Regions from separate parts of the Homo sapiens genome. Here regions 2 and 3 are each linked to region 1. Evidence: promoter capture Hi-C in 16 types of primary human blood cells and fetal thymus (Javierre and others, 2016). All regions are on one chromosome and are shown on one strand. The core of a region is centred on a gene start or on the middle of the fragment in contact, and the rest is flanking DNA. Distances in the headings are between cores, read along the strand shown. Region 1 holds the start of ZFP64 (ZFP64 zinc finger protein). Region 2 overlaps ZNF217 (zinc finger protein 217). Region 3 holds the start of BCAS1 (brain enriched myelin associated protein 1).

What was found. Contacts are between HindIII fragments. The CHiCAGO score rates a contact against its expected background, and 5 or more counts as called.
Region 2: a fragment that was not itself captured here is called in contact with the fragment with the promoter of ZFP64 in region 1 in 1 of 17 cell types (total CD4 T cells); the score reaches 6.4 in total CD4 T cells.
Region 3: the fragment with the promoter of BCAS1 here is called in contact with the fragment with the promoter of ZFP64 in region 1 in 1 of 17 cell types (total CD8 T cells); the score reaches 5.5 in total CD8 T cells.

What each region holds. Positions count from the first base shown.
Region 1 is chr20:52,190,381-52,193,080 of GRCh38, forward strand. ZFP64 (ZFP64 zinc finger protein) reads right to left here and starts at 1,399. Exons shown (of 6, transcript NM_018197.3): 1 at 1,211-1,399. The coding sequence starts at 1,256. RefSeq lists enhancers at 254-1,110, 2,151-2,280 and silencers at 871-1,110, 1,471-1,740. The HindIII fragment of the contact is 28,170 bases long and covers 1-2,700 here.
Region 2 is chr20:53,566,806-53,569,515 of GRCh38, forward strand. It overlaps ZNF217 (zinc finger protein 217), which reads right to left. Exons shown (of 6, transcript NM_006526.3): 6 at 266-2,459. The region is part of intron 3 of ZNF217-AS1 (ZNF217 antisense RNA 1); the gene reads left to right. Among named protein-coding and RNA genes, the nearest start is that of ZNF217-AS1, 15 kb to the left of the region's middle. The HindIII fragment of the contact is 4,272 bases long and covers 1-2,710 here.
Region 3 is chr20:54,069,186-54,071,885 of GRCh38, forward strand. It overlaps BCAS1 (brain enriched myelin associated protein 1), which reads right to left and starts at 1,409. Exons shown (of 13, transcript NM_001366298.2): 1 at 1,248-1,409. RefSeq lists an enhancer at 128-1,002. The HindIII fragment of the contact is 13,812 bases long and covers 1-2,700 here.

The DNA.
Region 1 (2,700 bases), core at 149-2,648:
ACTGTCGCTTAACAACAGTGACTTTAAGCGTGGGTTTTCTCATCTGAAAAATGGGAGGAGAGGTTTCTAATCCATGGTTTTTGTTTGTTTTTAATTTCTCCAAGAAAAAACACGGGCTTGTTATGAGAATTAAATGGGATGGTGCTCGTACCAGCACAGTCCCCCCTCCCCGCCAGTCCCCCAGCATGTTACCTGCTGGGTTCTTACTGAGGTACACTATTTAAACATGGACATATCTGAGCCCCACCTAGGAGATACTGAGTCATAACAGGGTGGGGTGGGGAGGATGGTGTTTAGGAAAATCTGTGCTTTTCACAGTAATGCAAGGAATACACCGCCAAGTTTGGGACCCAGTGTCTCCCAAACTGTTAACAGTAGCAGCTAACAAGCTGGGAGCTTACTATGTGCCAGATTTTCTGCAAACCCCTGGTAGATGGGTTCTCAAACTTCATGTGCTTCAGAGTTGCCCAGGCAGCTACGAAGGACAGCGGATCCCCAGCCCCACCCCCGAGATTGAATGGGTGGGGCCCAGAAAGCTGTTTTAAAATACACGCTCTCGCTCCCAGGTGGCTGGTTGCACTCAGTCTCTGGACCACACTTTGGGAAACAATGCACCGGGAGAAACCAGGGACTTGAAAAACGCTGATGTCCTCCTCGGTTAAATAAAAACTGAACCCCAAACCCAAATAAAGCGACCACGGCCCCGTTTTCCATTCAGATCTCCACCCTTAATGAGGAAAAGGCTTTGCAATGAGCCGGCAGGACCTCGTGAGACCTGGTGATTCCCCCAATCTCCAGGCTCTAATTTTGAGCCACTGAGGCAGAAGTTTTCCCATCAGTGTTGCCCCGTTTACCCTAGATTCCTCCCTTTCTCCTGCCCGCCCCAAACTCCGCCTGATGGGGCGGGAATGCCCTTAGGGGGTGGCGATTGTCTGAACGGCGTGCCCTCCCCCACTGTTCCCTTCCAAGGGGTCTCGCAAGGCTGGAGAGCGCCCCCGGTCTTGCGCCAGGTCGGGTGCGCCCCCACCCCAAGCCCACTCCGGCGCCCCCTGCACAGCGCGCCCGCCGCGGTCCCCGAGACGCGGCTCCGAGCCGTCACCCCGATTTCGGGGCCCCGGGCCTGCTGGCTGCGTCGCAGACGTGCTTGGGCCCGGGCCCCGGAGCGCGCACTGGGCCCCGGAGCGCGCACTGCTCCCGGAAAAGCACTTACTTTGCACCGAGCCCGCGAAGCTCTCGCCCTCGCTGCTCGCGTTCATGGCCGCAGACTGGGAGGTCCCCGGCCGGCCGGGATGCCAAAGTGGGGGACGCTGATCTACATGGTGCAAGGACTTTTCCTTTTATTTTTCCACACCCCCCACCCTGCCTTCTCCCAACTCTGCGAGGCGGGGAGGACGGATGTAAAGCAAGCTGCACTTCCGCTGCCTAGAGGGCGCTGGCCGGGCCCGGCGCCCCAACCTGGCTTTGCAGCAGCGGCTCCCCGGGGAAGCGGCGGGCGAATCCCGAGGCCCAGGCCCGCGGAGCCCCCCAACGCCCCCGGGGAGCTGGATGGCCACGCGCGTCCCGGCGTGCTGGGCGACCGCGGGTGGCGAGGGATGCGCCCCTGCCCGCACTCTGCGTTCTCCGCGGACGCGATTGGCCTCCCCGGCTCGGGGCGCCTTTTGCACCTGCAACCCCAGGCGTTGGGCCCCCAGCGCGGCCGTGCAGCAGCGCTGCTCCCGGGACGCCTGGGTGGTTTGCGGGGAGACCCACGTGCGGCTGCCGTTGCGGGGTGGGTGCGCGGGGCGCGGCGAGCTCCGGAGAAACCCAGGTTGGGCGTGAGCGCTGGGCAAATCAGCAAAGCGCTGGGCGGGTCCCTTGCCCCGCTAGGGAGACTGAGAGGACCGCGAAGAGGTGGGGTCGTAGCGCGGAGGGACCCCTGCTCCAGGAGCTGCCAACTTTATCGTGCATCGCAGTCGCCTGAAAGGCTTGTTAGAACACACGCTGTTGGGCCCACCCTAGCGTTTCTGCTTCAGTAGGTCTGGGGCGAGGCGTGAGAACGAGCATTTCTAAGTTCCCAGGTGATGCCCCTAGTGTTGGTCGGCGTCCACACTCTGAGGACAGTGACCTCTCTGCTCTGTCCCTCATGTCTTACTACTACTGTCTCCCCCGGGCTCCTGCGTCAGCCCTATTGTCTCTCTGCCGACCCTCCCAAGCCTCAGACCTCTCCCAGCCTCGAGGGATTTGCCCATAGAGTCTGTCCTGCTTCTGAAGGTCAGCATTCAAATTCACACTCAGGGAGGCCATGCTTGGCCTAATCTAATCATTCTAATATTGCAGCCCCCTCCTCCTCCCCCAACCACTCCCTGTCTCCTTCCTGTTTTTTTCTTTTTCTTTTTCTTTTCTTTTCTTTTCTTTTCTTTTCTTTTCTTTTCTTTTCTTTTCTTTTCTTTTCTTTTCTTTCTTTCTCTCTCTCTGCCTCTCTCTCTTTCTCCCTTTCTTTTTTTAGAGAGGGGGTCTTTCTCTGTCTCTCAGGCTGGAAGAGTGGTCGGATCCTAGCTCATTGCAGCCTCCAACTCCTGGGCTCAAGCAATCCCCCCTACAGGCGTGGGCCACCACCCTGGCTCACTTTTTAATTTTTATTTTTGTAGAGATGTTGCCCAGGCTGGTCTCGAATTCCTGGCCTCAAGCGATCCTCCATCAGCCTCCCAAAGTGCTGGGGTT
Region 2 (2,710 bases), core at 40-2,539, 1.4 Mb after region 1:
TGGGATTACAGGCGTGAGCCACGTGCTGGCCTTAAAATTGTGTTTATAAGCCAGGCATGATGGCTCGATACTCGGGAGGCCGAGAGCTGGAGGATCAGTTGAGCCCAGGGGTTCAAGGCTGCAGTGAGCTGTGATTGCACCACTGCACTCCAGCCTGAGTGACAGAGCAGGAGCACATCTCAAAAAAAAAAAAAAGAAAGAAAACTAAAAAGTTAAATAAAACAAAATCAGAAACCAGAAACACAATAAACACTAAAACTCAAGATTGCAAAACACCAAATCTATATTTACACTTCCACATATAATAACATAACTTTAAGCTGAAATATATCATAAATAAAACAAGTAATGTCTACTGTTCGACAACTTAAGTATCAACAATTAAAATAAATCAAACTGGAATGAAATAAATACATAAACAAAAATCCAACGAATTGTACCTCTATTATATGTACTGTTGTCTCAAAGAAAAAAAAATATAAAACCAGTAGTATACCAATAGTTAATACTGATGGACACAAAAACATATTTTGAAGTACAAAGGGCTGTAGGAAAATAATTGGTATTTTTATACATTCAGAAATGTGGTTAAAAAGAGAAATCTGAAAGCCCAAAAAATTCCAGCATAATACAAATCGACTTGTTTTCAAATAGATTTGGTGATTCTTTTTTTTAAATACAGGTTTAAATTCCAGCCCTCTATTATCACATACCCCCTTTAAGATTTATGGTTCTAGTCACAGCAAGCTCTCTGTAACACTCATTGGATTAGGCAAAGATTGAGTCAATCATCTTGCAAATGTGTTAATCTTCAAAAATAGGCTATAAAAGTGCAAAACTATGAAAACAAAATCTAGATTATGTACATATGGCTCAGCTTGTGAACAGGAAAAAAGGTCAATAGTGTACACTTTCCTGATACAAAGCACTTCATTGCAATGCCAACAGACTGATCTCAAATGAGTTCTCCCTTGTAACACAGGAGCTAAGACTTCTATCAAGGAGGACATCTTACGTTGCATAATTTAAAAAAAAAAAATTTTTTCTAGGATTACCCTTGCTCTATGGAGAACAGCGAGGCCAGAAAAATGAACAGTGCAAATTTATTTTTGAAACAGTTTCTTAATAAAATATTTTGTGGTCACTAAGCCCATGTACTAATAAACTCAGCCATGGACAGCATATTAAAGAACAAAAGTTTAAAATATCTAGGAAGCCAGCTGGTGGCCATCTTCTCTAAAACCCAAATTGCATGTGCACTGAGAAAAATGTTACTGCTTCAAAACAACCAAAAATGGGAAAATAACTGAGGTCTAGAAACAGATTTTCTCTTTCTAGACTCCCAGCGGGCTCGGCCAGCAGTTCCTTATTCAAAATCAATGTGTCTATAATCAACTCTAGTATGTCCACAGTTCACCCAAATGCCAGATACATTAAGACTACCAAATACAAACCTAAAATGTTCCCCCCAAAATTTCCCTTAAAACTGTTCCCCAATACCTGCAATTCACAGATATAATTTAGCATTTTTGTTTTTATATACTAATTTAGGCAAAACCCCCCCGCCACTGAATCGTCCAACAAAAATGATTAATTTGACAGAAACAAATTTAAATAACTGCACATACAGTTTATGTTTATACAACGTGTGGCTGCTCTACAGAGAAAATGCTTGTCTGTAGACACACTCTCTTAAAAATCCTACAAGCCATCCCAACGCCCTCAGTCAAGGATCCTGGAGGTTCCAGGACAATCTGGAGAGGCGAGGAAGAAGGTGCCTTCCCCATCTGAGATGCTCAAAGTTGCGATAAAATGCTGCCAGCTTCCGAATGGCTGACCTCGATATCTGCAGCACATATCATAGAGGGTCAATACTTCCATTAACAATTTTAAGACAACAATAGATTTGGGTGGATTCAACATAATACAAAATCATTGACAGTTTAAAAAAAAAAAAACATACATTTTAAATGAAAGAGCACAATAGCAGAAACTGCTCCAAGTGATGAGCTGCATTAGAGAAAAGGAATACACACAGTATTTGAACAAGCAGGTTTACAACTTAGATATTTACAGATTTTTACCTGAGGTGCAAGCATTATATACTTTTCCCCCATCCCGCCCCACCCAACCCAAATGATTTCTTTTCAGCAGCGCTCAAGTATGCAAAAATTCCACTTCTTATTTGGTCAATTCTAAGAAAAATATTATTCAGGGACAAAATAGAGATTTCCAGTCCCCATGTATGTAAGTTCCAACTGTTCCAACTAGTTTGTATTGCTATTTGGTACAAAAGTTAACAGAACAACTTTACACAACTGTAGTGTTCCTTGCAGATTCCTCATATGTTTTATGTACAGTACAATCACAGCTTATTTCAGTAGCTTTCACCATTCGCTTCTCAAAGGATGAAGTAAAATTTAATTTCATGGGGAGTAAGCACTGACATCCACCAAGACCTAAGGAAAACAACATTTTTTAAATGATTAAGATCAAAACTGAATACAGTTTAGAAAATTCTTTCTTTAAAAAAGCGTAATACATAGAACCAAACTGACCTAGAAATGCAATGGGTTCTATTTGTTGTTGTTGTTTTTGAGACAGTCTCACTCTGTCGCCCAGGCTGGAGTGCAGCGGCACGATCTTGGCTCACTGCAACCTCTACCTCCCAGGTTCAAGCGATTCTCCTGCCTCAGCCTTCCAAGTAGCT
Region 3 (2,700 bases), core at 159-2,658, 1.9 Mb after region 1:
GCTGCTGTGATCAGCTCAGGATCCCCAGGAGGCTGAGGCGGATCAGGCCCTGGACTCCGGGGGAACAATGTAAGGGACACCAAAAAGCTCAGCCATGGAGATGAATAGTATTTTAACATGAAATTTGTGAAAATCAAAATTACCGCTGTTCCTGATCTTATCTTTCTGTAACATGTTCATAGTTTGTTCATCACGGGTGTCTTGCCATTAATTCTGACTTTTAAAAATGTTGTGTTAACATACCGTTTATCTCCATGACTGAGTTTTTTGGCATCCCTTACATTTCGTGCCCAAGGTGAGAGTCTCACTGGCTGCACCCTCATCCCAGGCCCGACTGGACTCCAGTTCCACAGCATCCTTTCCATGAGACCTGGAACCAGATGCAGCTCCCTCTTCACCCAGCTTCATGTTCCTAGTTGTAAAATGGAGACGATGGTAACAGCGAAAACAAGAACCACAGCTAAGAGTTACTAAGTGCACAGGTATTTACGGGCAGTAGAGTCCTCTCAGCCCTTTGATCTCAGTACTGTTATTAGGTTCACTTTACAGATGAGGAAACTGAGGCCCAGAGGGCTGAGGGAACCTGCTCCAGGGCACCCAGCCAGCCCAGGGTGGAGCTGGGGCTGGCATCTGGCGGTGTGGCTGCAGCGCACCCGCATTCTAATCGCAATGACTCTTCCAGGCAGGAAACTGGTTCAGAGGGAGATGTAAACAGCAGGGGTCCTGAAGCCAGGATTTGAATCAGCAGCTGCCTCATAGGGTGGTCTTGAGCGTTAAATAAGATTCACAAAAGGCACTCCACAAGTCCTTTTTCTTGTCCTCCCACTTCTTTAGGCAATGCCTGAGGTGAAGGCTCAGATTCCACTCGGCTATGGGGCATTCTTGCCCTGACGGATCCCCAAATCACACAGCCTATCCCTCCATCCAGTGACTTCTCCCCATGTCCTGTGCTTGAAATGACCCTCAATAGTTCCACCAAATAGGAGTTATTTATGTGGCTATGCGCCTAACACTGACCACATTGTCATTTGCTCCTTGTAAAACTAAAAACTTTGAGATGAGTGCTATCTTTGGGTCCATTTCACAGATAGTGGAACTGAGGCTTACACATATCCAAGGCCACACAGTGAACAGAAGGCAGAGCTGGGATCAAACTTGACCCTGTCTGACCCCTGGCCTCTATATGACACCGTCTACCACAAACAGCAAACCCTCCAGCCATGCCTAAAGGATCTGAAAGCAGTTACCTGCTGAGCCCCTGTGGGAGTATCTTCAGTCCCCTCGTGTCACCCGGAGCTGCTCCTGCACAGGGTCCTGGGTCTCCAGTGCGTGCTGCCCAGTGCCTGGCTGTCGGTGGAGCCTGGCTCCCTGCACTTTGCTTCCTTGTGCAGAGCCTGCTGGCTGAATACACAGAGCAGGGCAAACACAAGCCTGGGTGGAGTCCTCCCTTCTCCCCGGACCATCCTGCAGAAACAGGTTCTCTTCCTGATGTGGGGCTGCCCTCCCAACTCCAATAAAAACTGAGCACCTGACTCCTCTCGCATTAATGCCTCCCTGGCACCCCAAGTATTCTACCCAGTGCCCCTCACCTACTGAGGCTGCCGGGTTGACCTGGGGAAGCAGTTTCCTTCCCCAGTAACCGTAGGTCATGGTCAGAGCAGGGAAAACACGTTCTGTGAGATTTTGTAGTTCTGTCTGCTGACTTCAGAACACCACCTCCACCACCACCTAACCACCTAATTGGAAGGAAATAGCTTCTCATCCACTCAACTACCCCTAGTCATGTAAACCTTATTCCCAAAGGGGTTTGGACACCAGAAATCAGGTAACCTGAGGGTGGTTTATTGCTCTGGAGACATACCATGATGTTGGAAAGGGCATTCTTTTTCTTTGCAGGCCAGAAATTCGACAGGCTATGCAATTTATTTAATTCAAGCAAGGATGTTGTTTAAAGTGTCTTACAAGGACATATACAATAGATTATGAGAGCATGAAATAACATGTAACAAAAGAAGATTGAAGAACAAAATTTGGAACATCAAATGAGAACAGGATCAAAAATAAATGCTCTTGTTGATTTACAGACTTGCTATGAAGGGTTTGCAGATATGGCTTTGAGCTTCCTAACAGCCAATGCAAGAAAGGAAACTTGATAAGTTACACTACTTAGTGCTCTGGAGAAGACATTCAAGAGAATTGCGACCAATAATTATTGTGGTTTTATTCAACAGTATACTCAGCTTAACCCCTATCATGAATACTTGTCAAGCACCAGGCTATATATATAAGCCAGAGTTTAAAGAGGTGAGTAAAAGATGCTGGGTCTCTACCCTTCTTGCACTCAGTGTCATTGGACATAGAATCCTGTAAATATAAACATAGAATTACAGGGTGTGATTCTCATTATAAAAGAAAAGCCAAGGCAGCTAAGGGAGAGAAATAGAGAGAGCTGGGGAAGGCCTCTTTCAGAAATCAACATTTAAGAAAAAAAATACTATTTAAATAAATGCTGAATACACAACCAGGCACACCGTAATTAGGGTTGTAAAGTCGATTCCAGCTCAGCACTGTACATGTCAATCTGGAATGTAGTAAACCCAATTATTAAGCAGCTGCCATGCACACGCTCTGTGCTGACCCAAGCCTGGAGGCTCAGGAGCTTGAGCTCTGGCCCTGGGTTGAGACAGACAAGGGCTCGGA